Linked DNA regions of Homo sapiens: all the other regions are linked to region 3. Evidence: promoter capture Hi-C in 16 types of primary human blood cells and fetal thymus (Javierre and others, 2016). All regions are on one chromosome and are shown on one strand. Each heading gives the region's core, a stretch centred on a gene start or on the middle of the fragment in contact. The rest is flanking DNA. Distances are from core to core; before and after follow the strand shown. Region 1 overlaps RBM19 (RNA binding motif protein 19). Region 2 overlaps RBM19 (RNA binding motif protein 19). Region 3 holds the start of PLBD2 (phospholipase B domain containing 2).

The links. The method cuts DNA at HindIII sites, captures the fragments that hold promoters and counts their contacts. A CHiCAGO score of 5 or more calls a contact.
Region 1: a contact is called between a fragment that was not itself captured here and the fragment with the promoter of PLBD2 in region 3, in 1 of 17 cell types (endothelial precursors). The highest score is 5.1, in endothelial precursors.
Region 2: a fragment that was not itself captured here is called in contact with the fragment with the promoter of PLBD2 in region 3 in 1 of 17 cell types (erythroblasts); the score reaches 7.0 in erythroblasts.

The regions. Positions count from the first base shown.
Region 1 is chr12:113,912,615-113,916,709 of GRCh38, forward strand. It overlaps RBM19 (RNA binding motif protein 19), which reads right to left. Exons shown (of 24, transcript NM_016196.4): 21 at 2,355-2,471. Among named protein-coding and RNA genes, the nearest start is that of RBM19, 52 kb to the right of the region's middle. The HindIII fragment of the contact is 6,170 bases long and covers 1-4,095 here.
Region 2 is chr12:113,932,747-113,936,625 of GRCh38, forward strand. All of the region lies in intron 16 of RBM19 (RNA binding motif protein 19), which reads right to left. Among named protein-coding and RNA genes, the nearest start is that of RBM19, 32 kb to the right of the region's middle. RefSeq lists enhancers at 1-1,505, 221-365, a silencer at 228-406 and a cis regulatory region at 284-301. The HindIII fragment of the contact is 1,497 bases long and covers 578-2,074 here.
Region 3 is chr12:113,357,052-113,361,246 of GRCh38, forward strand. PLBD2 (phospholipase B domain containing 2) reads left to right here and starts at 1,536. Exons shown (of 12, transcript NM_173542.4): 1 at 1,536-1,839. The coding sequence starts at 1,550. LOC105369989 (a long non-coding RNA gene) reads right to left here and starts at 2,459. Exons shown (of 3, transcript XR_945346.3): 1 at 2,279-2,459. RefSeq lists silencers at 1,350-1,849, 1,900-1,959 and an enhancer at 2,295-2,794. The HindIII fragment of the contact is 3,133 bases long and covers 73-3,205 here.

The sequences.
Region 1 (4,095 bases), core at 113-2,612, 560 kb after region 3:
GCTGTGCGGCTTAAAAGAGGTGATTCTGCACGGGAAGGCATTCAAGCTCAGAGCCCCGCACACAGCAAGCGTGTAATAAAAGGGAGTTGTGATTTTTACTACACCTGGTAGGAGAAACCCATAGAACCTGCCTGCCCAAATGGACCAGCTTGGTTCCCCGAAACCCTGAAACCTCCCCCTGGCTAATGACCTTTACCGGCCAGTGGCTTTGTCTGAAATCCTGTCTGGGGCTTCCCTGGACAATCTTGAAGTCCCTGAGAAGGCTCACAGCGACCCCTGCTGTCTGCAACGAGGAACTGCCTTACATCCCCAGCCGGAGTGAACAACAATAGCAGGTACGGCCCTCCAAGAAGGTCTTACGTTTCCAGGGTTTTAAGAAAACTCTCATCAGAACAATGGCAAGGAGAAGAGTCACCACATGTAATTATGTTCAGTGGACACTAATTCCCTGTCTTCTAAAAATAAATATAATACATGAGATCACACAAAGTGCTCTCTCTTCCCTTGTGGTCTTTTGTTTCCCCGGATAAGTGTCATCCTAAATATACTGCAGAACCAAGTGAAACTGTCATTTCAGCGGGATATTATTTCCCGATCAACATGCGCTCTTCTTAGCAAGCCCGTTTTAATCTGGCAGTTCTTAAGTTGGACTCCTTTTAAAAAGCAGAGCATGTTTAAACAAGCAGACATACCGAGAGGCTAAGGATATGTACCTTCCTGGAGGGACGACTGATCAGTCGAGGTTTAGGGAAATGGGAAACCTCCCCCCAGGTCATGACCCCATCTCGCCAGGCTATTCCTGCTGTGCAGGATACCCGGAGATCATAGCTAAGATCCTGCTTCCCAGATACTGGCAGGATTGGTCTCTGCCTCAGATCCCAGCTCACCACACACCACATCTGTTTATGAACTGAATACTAGTGTATGATTTAGAACAAACAGAGGGGAAAAGGAGGACAAAGATATCTGAAGTTCCCCACATGACTTCTTATTCTTCAAACTACAGAGTGAGAGCAAAGAAGGTAGATGCCACACAAAGATAATTGTTTCTCATCTCCAAAACACAAGGCTGATTTTGTAACCACAGATTACCTTGCAAGATGCTAACTGGCAACTCTAACAGAGGCTTCACTCTTGGACCCTTGTGCAAGTGTAGAATGAACGAACGAGACCTAGTGTCTAGAATCCTAAATGTTCACCCACGCGCAGGCCATGGTGCTGCAGGTCCCCCGAGCAGTCCTGGATCCCACCGAAGCCTCAACAATGTGTTTAGGTGAAGCTGACTTCATCTGCCTTTGCATTCTGAGAGCTAGATGGTCTCTCTATTACCCTGCCCATGCCTTGGGTGGGGGGGCCTTGGCTTCAAGCATTCCCCTTAGGCCCTGATATGAGGACGTTTCTTTCATTCATGGCTTGGTGCTGGGTGGTGCCTACCTAATCTGAAAAGCCAAACACTGTAACATGGCAGCGTAGGGATCACCAACTAGGGGCCCTGGGGCAGGCCAGACTTGTTTTGTTTTTAAAAAGTGAATTAGTTGCTGATGAATTCTCCTTAAGAATCCACATGGCTGGTTTCTCTTTCAAAACATGGGAACTGGTCTTACGAAGCCTGAGTTCCTGCATGGCATCCCAGCTGGATGACCAGAGAGAGGCCCGCCTGCTGCTCAGTCCCCACCCAGCCTGCTGCCGTTACCGGCTGGGTCCCTGCGACAGCTGCATTTTCCACCCCTGTGCAAGCAGGTGCTGACGGACTGCTTTATGTGTGCAGGTAATTCGCCTTCATTTCCATAGAGTCATTTAGGCCACTGGTCCCCAACCCCGGCTGGACATTAGGATCCCCTGGGGAGCTTTTAGCAAAACACCGATGTCTAGACCCCACTGTTGAAAAATGGAATCCAACTCTCTGGGGGTGCAGCCTCGGGAAAGGTGTATTTTAGCCATTGCCAGGTGGCTGGAATGTGTGGCTAAGGTGGAAAACCAGCACCTTAAACCAAAGGGGTAGCCTGGATGGAGGAAATTTCAAGCAGATCATGGGTAGGGCTGGGTTTTAGCCACTGGGGCCCCTGCCCCTCTTGCACGTTGTGGATGGGGACAGGGAAGCCTGCCTGCCCTTTCTCCATCTGCCTCGGAGAGGGGGAAGCCTGGCTGTTTTGACTTTTTTCCTGCACAGTGCTCTGGGGAGCCACATCTGAGATTAAGGGAGATAAATCAAAAGCAGCCAAAAGATGACCTTTGAAAGACCACTGTGCCGGCCTGCAACGGAACCATCCAGGACCCAAAGGCCATCTTCCCTGAGACTCGGGCAGGCTCCCCGCCCACACGCCAGTCCCCTGGACTAAACCTGAAGTTCTCACCTGAAGAGCTCTCGGATCTCCCGGCTGTGGGCCTGGAAGGGGATGTTCCGCACCAGGATCTTGGAGGTGGTCTGCTTTCTGGGAACTTGTTTCTTCCGAGCCAATGTCACGGCTGGCCTGGAGTGGTGGGGGGAGAGGGTCCAAGTTATTCGGAGCTTCAGCAGCTCCTGCCCAACATTGACTCCACTACGCCTCCATCAGAATATTCAGGTGATGGATTCAAGGAGTGTGCGTGGGGTGCGGGACCAACGTGAAAGGAGAGGAAGGCCGTCTCCCACCAGGTGATAGGACCCAAAACAGCTGCAGACGTCAGGGGGACACATCCGTGCTTGGGTGGCTGCTGACCTTCATTTGAGAGACTCCGGGGCCACCAGGGACTTAAGGAGCCCCGCTAAGGGTGGGGCTGGTTTCTCACCAAACCCAATCTCCATTGTGTCTTTCTCTCCAGTTGCAAAGAAAGACCCCAGTTGGTTTCCAAAGGTCTTGTGACACTTCATCAATAACCCGAGGAGGAACATGCGGGGGCCTAACCATGCAGATGGACCAGGTGGCGAGCAAGGACACTCTCAGCCCAGGTTCAAGGCCATCCCCAATGCAGTGCTACCTGGCCTGTCTCCCTGCTCTCCCAGGGAAACCTCCCACTCCACCAAAACAGGGTAGGGAAGTGAGCAAGGCTGGGAGTTAACAAGCTGGGTGTGAATGCCAAATCCGACACTTAGGATCTCTGCGATCTTGGGCAAGTAACATGGCCGCTCTGGGCCTCCATTTCTTCCACTGTAGAATGGGTGTAATGATAGGCCCACCTAATTTGATTGTTTGAAGATTTAATAAGCAGACTCAGCACTGGACCCAGAATGTGGTAAACATTCAATAAACAGCAGCTGTTATGATAATGACCATGTTAGGACTTACCTCCTTCAGGCCTGCTCCACGTCACCTCCTCACAGGCCTTCCCTGTCTCCATTAAAATGGCAGCCCCCTCACCCACAGCCCCCAGCTTCATTTCTCTTCCTGGCACTGATCCCTGTGCTAGTACATTATACATTTAATCATGTTTCTTTTCTTTTTTTTGTCTTGTCATTCTGGGGCTATGCTGTCTCATATGGCAGCCACCAGCCACATGTGGCTAGTTGAATCTAAATTAAAATGAAGCAAAACTAGGCTGGGCATGGTGGCTCACACCTGTAATCCCAACACTTTGGGAGGCTTAGGTGGATCACCTGAGGTCAGGAGTTCAAGACCAGCCTGGCCAACATAGTGAAACCCTGTCTCTACTGAAAATACAAAAATTAGCCAGGTGTGGTGGCAGGCGCCTGTAATCCCAGTTACTTGGGAGGCTGAGGCACGAGAATTGCTTGAACCCAGGAGGCGGAGGTTGCAGTGAGCTAAGATCACACCACTGCAGTCCAGCCTGGGTGACAGGGTGAGACTCCGTCTCAAAAAAATAGAAGCAGCAAAACTACAAATTCACTTCCTCGGTTGCTGGGGTATCAGGCTCCAAGATGGTGCCCAGTGATTCCTGGCTCTTGGTGTTCATGCCCTGGGTAATCCCTTCCCATGCTGTATCAGGGCAGGTCTGGGTGACAAGCAGCATACAGCAGAGGGATGGTGTGTGAATTCTAAGACTAGGTTGTAGAAGACATTGTGGCCTCCTTCTTCCCCATTCTTGGATCACTCACTCTGGAGAGACCCGCTGCCATGCCATGGGGACACTCAAGCGGTCCCAGAAAGAGATCCCCAA
Region 2 (3,879 bases), core at 76-2,575, 580 kb after region 3:
CAGATGTTTGCCAACAAAAACACCAGGAACCAGAAAAAGAGGGAAGAAGTGAGAAAGGAATCAGGGCTAGGCCTGGGGGCGGGGGAGTTGGGGGAAGGATCTAAAAGCAAGGTGGGCTGGAGGGGGTTGGGAGAGGCAGGGGAACTGTGCTTCCATCTGTAGTTAGCACAATCAAATCCAGTCACGCATCGCCACATGGGGCTTTATTATAATCAGGCCACAGAATTTACTGCGGCCTCCTCCCCTTTCCCGGCTCTCGGCGCTGGAGCTGACAGCAAAGACTGTTATCAGTTGCAAGCAGCTTTTCAGGACCTCCCCCCACTCTGAGCCCTTTATCTGGAGGTGAGGGTCTTGGTTGTGGGGAGATAAAACACGCTGTCCCCCTCCCTCGAGACTGGTACAGAGAACAGGAGAGCTTTGCAGAAAGGAAGGGGGTAAAATAAAAAAAAAAAGGTATGTCCACTCCCCTCCTACTCTTCTTCCTTGGGAGCCTGAGAAAATCCAGGGCTTTGTGGGCTGGCTGAGTCCCCCCAGCCCTCGTTGTCCTCGTACAACGGGGGAGTCGGGGATTTGGTGAAGCTTCAGGAACAATGCAAAGAGGGTGGGGGTGGGGGAGGAGCAGGTGAAAAGAACAGCACCCGCCAGGAGGGGCTGTGCATGTGCTGCGTGCAGTGAGGGCAGGAGGAGGCCCTGGAGATCAGCTCTGTGGGAATTCACCGATGACGCGGGACACAGCGGGGCTTGGAATTAGCACAGACACGCACAACTTCCCGGGCCAAAGGAGGCCCAGCGGCCGGGCTCTAAGGCCTTCTTTGTGTGAGTCATGGTCAGGCCCTGGAAAGCAGCCCCTCTGGGAGGTAGGGGCTGTTGGACACATGCTCAAACCTACAATGTAGACCCAGGAAGCAGGGGGACCCGCGGGCAGGGGGTGGGAAAACACTCTGACCGTAAACCACAGCATGCTATCTCCGTGATGCACCCTGTGCTGTGATGCAGACATTTCTGTACTCAGGGCCCACTTCTATTACTACTTGTGACATCTCACTTGTCCCCCAACAGCTCTATTGTCCTCCACAGCTCAAAAGTTCCTGGGGAAGGGGGTCTGTGCATCTGTGTGGTGTCCATCTTGATCACCCAGCTCGGCTGCTGGCTTGGGGCTGGTGCCCATGGTGAGTTAAAGACTATCCACTGTGCCATATTTTTCTAAATTTTAATTTAATTTTTGAGATAGGGTCTTGCTCTGTCACCCAGGCTGAGTGTAGTGGTGCAATCTCGGCTCACTGCAGCCTCCATCTTCCAGGCTCAAGTGATCCTCCAACCTCAGCCTCCTGAGTAGCTGGGACTACAAGGCATGCACCACTACGCCCAGCTAATTTTTGTATTTTTTGTAGAAATAGGGTTTTGCCATGCTGTCCAGGCTTGTCTTGAACTTCTGGACTCGAGTGATCCTCCTGCCTCAGCCTCCCAAGATGCACTGTGATTTATATTGCTCAGTCACCAACAGCAGCGGAAGACTGGTGATGTGCATGTGACATCCCACCACGCCCTCAGAGGGCGGGGCGGATATCATGCCCGTTTTACAGATATGGAAACTGAGCCTCAGAGAGGCAGGTGGCTTGGCCAGTCACAGAATGGCTGCTTACTGGAAATCTCAGGGCCATTTCCCCAGGGGCTCTAGGCCTCACATGATGAGGATGCCAAGGACTTAGAACCATGCCTAGCATGGCATAACTGCTGCTTTTGCTCTTGGGTTCACTCACACACACTTCCTGATCACTATCAGCCACTGGGGCACGTTCATGGGTGCTAGGATACTGCCGTGAGCAAGGTGAATGGGGTCTCGGCATGTGGAGTGGCCATTCCAGGGGCAGAGTCCGACAGAGCAACACCGGGGAAAGGAACCATTCATGACACAATTCCAGGAAGTGATAAGCATTTGAAATAAAATAAAGGGCCATTTGTGAGAGTGGGGACAAATGGGAGCCCCCTCTATTATTTTGATTGATGGTGTTATTGTCACCACTGTGTTCTGAGGCTGGGCTAACAACGAAAACCAAACGTTCAAACCTAACTAAGCTTCTACTGTGTGCCAGAGCCTTGGGACACAAAGACAAATATGACCCGGCCTCATCTTTCGAAGGAACAGAGAGGCAGATTCTCATGCATTCCCTCACTCCCTTGACACCTGTGAACCGAGCTTCCCTATGCCTGGGCCCCCCGGGGTGCTGGGTACCGGGCAGTGAAGGAGACAGCCCCATTCCCTGCCTTCACGGCTCAAAGTCTGGCTGAGATAGGAAACAAATACAAGTAACAAATAAACAGAATAAATAGAAATTGTGACAAGTGTTAGAGAAAAAAGAAGACAGCAGAGAGGGATAATCCCCAGGACACAAGGAAATGAAGAGCCTGGTGGAAGCGGTCACTTTGGGAGCCACCACGTGTCCCCAGCCTGCCTCCTGTTGCCACCCAAGGCTGCGGGAAGAGGCCTCCACCAATTTGTTTTCAGTGCCGCTCAGCCCTGGCTGATCTCTGCGTTTCAAAGGAGAACTCGCTTTGGGCCAAAAAAAAAAAACATTACTTAGGTTCAAGGGTGGTAACTGAAGTAAAAATCAAGGCAGCTGTGATTTGGGGGAGACAGTTAAGAACAAGCCAGGATGACATGAAGAGAATTTTGTTTTGATGGGAACAGGCACAGGTTTTGAAGGAGACCCTGATCCAAACTGAGTGGAGAGAGCTTAACTCATAAACGAGCAGGAGTCGGGCTTTCACAAGGTTTACACCAATCATCATTAACCCCAACGATGTGGGATGCTTCTGGGTCCTCAGATCGCAAAGGGACTGAAGGATTTTGTTTCCTGATTGAAACAGGCCTCCAGACAGGCACTTCCTGAATGCCTTGCGCTGGCTGAGCCAGTCCTGAAGATACACAGTGAAACAAGGAAATGAGAAATGTGGACAAGGCAGGGGAGGTTAGGTACAGCAAAGTCTATTCCACTAAAATCTTAGACTGGGCGTGGTGGCTTATGCCTGTAATCCCAGCACTTTGGGAGGCTGAGGCAGGCAGATCACTTGAGGCCAGGAATTCCAGACCAGCCTGGCCAATATGGTGAAACCCCGTCTCTACCAAAAATACAAAAAAATTAGCCAGGCGTGGTGGTGGGCGCCTGTAGTCCCAGCTACTCGGGAGGCTGAGGCAGGAGAATTGCTTCAACCCAGGAGGCAGAGGTTGCAGTGAGCCAAGATCGCGCACTCCAGCCTGGGCAACAGAGCAAGGCTCTGTCTCAAAAAAACAAAACAAAACAAAACAAAAAAAACAACTCTTAAATCTGACAGTGTTCCTCCCCATTTTTTTTTAACTATGAAATGTCCTTTAAAAAAAAATGAGAACAAAGGAGAGAGTAGCTGAGGACTTATTATTATTTTTTTTAACATCCTTATTTTAATAAGTTAAACAACTGGTTGCTGTATTGTGGGTGTGTATAGGTGAGTGGTTATTACTGACAAGGAAAATCGTAACATCTGGATAGAATGACCATGGTCCTGTTGGTCTTGGCTTCTAAGATGTGGTCATGGTCCTTAGACTATGAGGTCCTCGATGCGGGGGATACACTGCCCGCTGTGGGCATCTAGGAATGCGTGGGGGTGTTCCAGGTTGTCACAAGGACTGGGGGCACTCGTGACACTCAGAGGCACAGGCCAGGGATGTGAAATGTCTTGTGATTTGCAAAGCAGTCCTGACAAGAAAGTACTGTCCAGTCCCAAAGCCCAATGATACCCCTTTTCCCAGCTAGGAAGCATTAGCCAGGGGGTGGGGGTTGCCCTATCTGGCCCCCAGGGGCCACGGCTTCCCCTTCCTTTCCTGTCTTTGCAGTCACTGGA
Region 3 (4,195 bases), core at 286-2,785:
TACAAGGCCACCAGCTATGCAAGGCCACAAGTTATGCACTATATGATTAACTACTTTTGTTTTACCTTTCTAAGCTTGCTTATAAAAACCCCACAATATCTTTGTTCTAGGCTCAGCTTTTTGGATGTGAATCCACTGAGCCAGTGCGTACGTTGAAATAAACATCCTCCTGTTCTCTCATATTGGTCTCTCCGTTCCTCAGTTTCCCACAACAGGACTACAGGTGTGCACCACCAAGCTCAGCTAATTTTTATATTTTATAGAGACAGAGTCTTGCCAGGTTTCCTAGGCTGGTCTCAAACTCCTGGGCTCAAGCATTCCTCCCACCTTGGCCACCCAAAGTGCTGTGATTACAGGCATGAACCACTCACCTGGCCTTCCCTCTCAAATTTTAAGAGTTCCTGATATATTATATGATATATGTTGAGATATATATACATATATATATGTAATGTATATATATGATATATGTTGCAAATAGTTTCTCCTGGTCTGTCAGATGTCTTTTGACTTTGCTTATTGAGTTTTTTGACATGAAAAAGTTAAAAAATTTATACAGTCAAATGCATTAATCTTTTATTGCATCTAGGTTTTTTTTTTTTTTTTTTTCTTTTGAGACAAGGTCTCATTCTGGTTGCTCAGGCTGGAGTGCAGTGGTGCAATCTCGACTCTCTGCAGCCTCGACCTTCCGGGCTCAGGTGATTTTCCTACCTCAGTCTCCCGAGTAGCTGGGACTATAGGCGCGCCTCACTGCGTCCGGCTACTTTTTTGTATTTTTAGTAGAGACGGGGGTTTCACCATGTTGCCCAGGCTGGTCTTGAACTCCTGAACTCGCCCGCCCTGGCCTCCTGGAGTGTTGGGATTACAGGCGTGAGCCACCGCGCCCGACGGCATCTAGGTTTTGAGTAGTAGTTAGACAGCTTTTTCCCACACACATGTAAAAAGGGTATTTGAGGGACAATGGGAAAAGTTGGAATAAAGACTGCATTAGATAACTGTATTAAATAAATGGCAAATACCATTAAATAAATCTGGCCGGGCGCGGTGGCTCACCCCTGTAATCCCAGCACTTTGGGAGGCTGAGGCAGGCGGATCACCTGAGGTCAGGAGTTCAAGACCAGCCTGGCCAACATGGCGAAACCCCGTCTGTACTGAAATTACATAAATCAGCTGGGCGTGGTGGTGCGCGCCTGTAATCCCACCTACTCAGGAGGATGAGGCAGGAGAATCGCTTGAACCCGGGAGGCGGAGGTGGCAATGAGCCGAGATCGCGTCACTGCACTCCAGTCTGGGCGACATATGGAGGTTTTGTCTTGTCTCAAAAAAAAAAAAAAAAAAAAACTTGGGGAAGTGTGCTAAACCGGGTTTGCGTAGGTGGAAGGGGCGGCCGGGCTCTTTAAGGTGGGTCCCGCCCCGTAGGCCTCCCCTCGCGCCAGCCCCTCCCATCCCGGAAAGGCTCAGCCCAAGCCCGGCCCCGCCCGCCCTCGGCCCCGCCCATGGCAGAGCGCAGTCACGTGACCCGGGCTGCGGGGCGCAGCATTGTGCGGTCATGGTGGGCCAGATGTACTGCTACCCCGGCAGCCACCTGGCCCGGGCGCTGACGCGGGCGCTGGCGCTGGCCCTGGTGCTGGCCCTGCTGGTCGGGCCGTTCCTGAGCGGCCTGGCGGGGGCGATCCCAGCGCCGGGGGGCCGCTGGGCGCGCGATGGGCAGGTCCCTCCAGCCTCCCGCAGCCGCTCGGTGCTCCTGGACGTCTCGGCGGGCCAGCTGCTTATGGTGGACGGACGCCACCCTGACGCCGTGGCCTGGGCCAACCTCACCAACGCCATCCGCGAGACTGGGTAAGGGTTGGCTTATCCCCACGCGGGGCCATCGGGGGAGGGGGATGCGTGGGCGCCGGACCTCGCCTGTTCCCGGGACCGGCCTCTTGCCGGGTGGGAACGCCCGTTTCTCTGGGGGTCAGCTACTCCCGAGGCTGCAGCACCGCCCTGCGGGCCAAGTACCCTGTTTGGGAGCTGGCTACTGCGGCATCCCTCACCTCATGGGGCCAGTCCCTTGCCTTCAGCCAGTGGTGACAGTACTTCTGTCCCCAAGAAGCCAGTTCCCTACCACCGAGGCCGCAGTGCCTGCATCTGGATCAGGTCCATGGCTGGTGGGTAAATTCTATCCTCACGGGGACCTGCTCCCTTCCCTAGACTTTGCCTCCTCACCCCATGGAGGCCAGCCCCCTGTCCCCAGGCCTGAGGGGTGATGAGAACTCAGCAGGAGACTAATTCTTACCTGCTTGGCTGTGGCTTGCTCGTGGGTGCCAGCACCCTGCCTCCCTTCCAGTGCCAGGTCAGCAGGACTGAACCTGGGTTCCAGGCTAGTCCAAAAGCAGAGGGTCCCTAAAGTCACATAGACCCATTTAGTATCCTGCTAGGGCTCTGCTCCTCCCTTGTCTTCTGTGTCCTGGTCCAAGGGGAAGTCCTTGGCTGGATGCCGTGTTTGGCAGCCATGCTCACCATCTTTATTGCTGGAACCCAGGCTGTCATTCTGATGTGTGAGTCTCACCTAACTCCTCCGCCTGTCTGGGCTCCCGTTTCCCCATCTGTGGCCCAGATTTTGAGGATGTGCTCTAGTTGGGTGGTCATGTGCTGCAAGTTCTGTACAAGGGCTTGTGCCCATTCATTTATTCATTACCCTGATGGTTGGCCTTAGGGACACAGCTGAGCAGCTGTCTCTACTCAGTGGGAAACACAGACAGCGATAGAAGAGAAATCAGAGTCAGTGGGAGTGGGAAGGATCAGCTTCAAAGCCTTGTCAGCAGGGCCCAGACGCTGGATCAGGCTGTGCTGGGGGATCCTAGGGAACCCGGGGTGCATCCGTCATATCCTAGTGTCCAGATGATGCTAGGGAACCCTAGCACTAGGATGTGCCCAGGATGTGGTCTGTGCTCAGACCACACTGCCCCCTGCAGCAGAAAGGGCCTCCTCCCACTTTAGCCCCTATCCATTTTACTGGCATCCATTGGCTTCTGCAGGTGTTAGGGAGACACAGGATGCCGAGGACACCCCCATTCTGGTGGCACTTGGGGGGTACATCAAGTAGACGTGAGATTTGGGGGAGATATTTGCACAGACACAGGGGCACTGGTTGGGGTAAATCTGGGAAGGCTCCCAGAGAGAGGAGGCCACAGAGTGAGCTGGCATCTGTGGAGGGAACTGAAGCTTTGTGGCTGGCCTCGGGGGCTGCCGGGACTCTTGGATCTGGTGACCCGTTCTTTGCTGACTCACTCATGTTTTTGGCCCTGCATAGCAGAATCAAGAGGACATGACAGAACTGTTCAGGCGAGGAGGGGCAGGAGCGAGGCCCAGCATGGGGAGGGGGCTTTGGCCTCTGGAGGCCCCTCCTGGGCTGTGTTGCTCTTGACTATGGTAAACATGGAAGTGGAGAGAAGGCTTCCTTGATTGTGCTGGATGGAAAGTTCTTCCAGGCTCAGCCCCTCTGCTGTGTGACCTTGGGCAAATCCCTTCACCTCTCTGAGCATGTTCCCTCATATCAAGGTAGGACCAAAAGGGTCATGGAAATTCACTGGGGTCACAGAAAGCACTGTTTATTTATTTTTATTTGTATTTTATTTTTTGAGACACAGTTTCACTCCGTTGCCCAGCTGGAGTGCAGGGGCACGATATTGGCTCACTGCAACCTCCCCACCCTGGGTTCAAGCGATTCTCGTGTCTCAGCCTCCCAAGTAGCTGGAATTACAGGTGTGTGCCACCATGCCCGGCTAATTTTTGTATTATTAGTAGAGATGGGGTTTCACCATGTTGGCCAGGCTGGTCTCAAACTCCTGACTTCAGGTGATCTGCCCATCTTGGACTTTCTGGCTTGTTTTCGGCACCCTCTCTCATCCCCTCCTCTTACGCTCACATGCCCCTTTCCCTTTGAGTTTGCCAGCCCTTGAGGCTCTGATGCAGGGAAAACCATAAAGCGAGCCCCATTTTATAGGCAGGAAACTGAGGTCCTCAGAGACAGCTGCTTGAGGACTCAGGGTCAGATGAAAGAAAGCCATAGGGGGTGTCCTGGCTCCTGATCAGCAGAATCTCTGATCTGTGGGGGACTCTGTGTCTTATTTCGGAGGGTGGGGGCAGGGATTTGATGCCTCTGTTCACTCAGAATTAGGATCCTCCTCCTTCCTGGTGAAATCCCCAGATT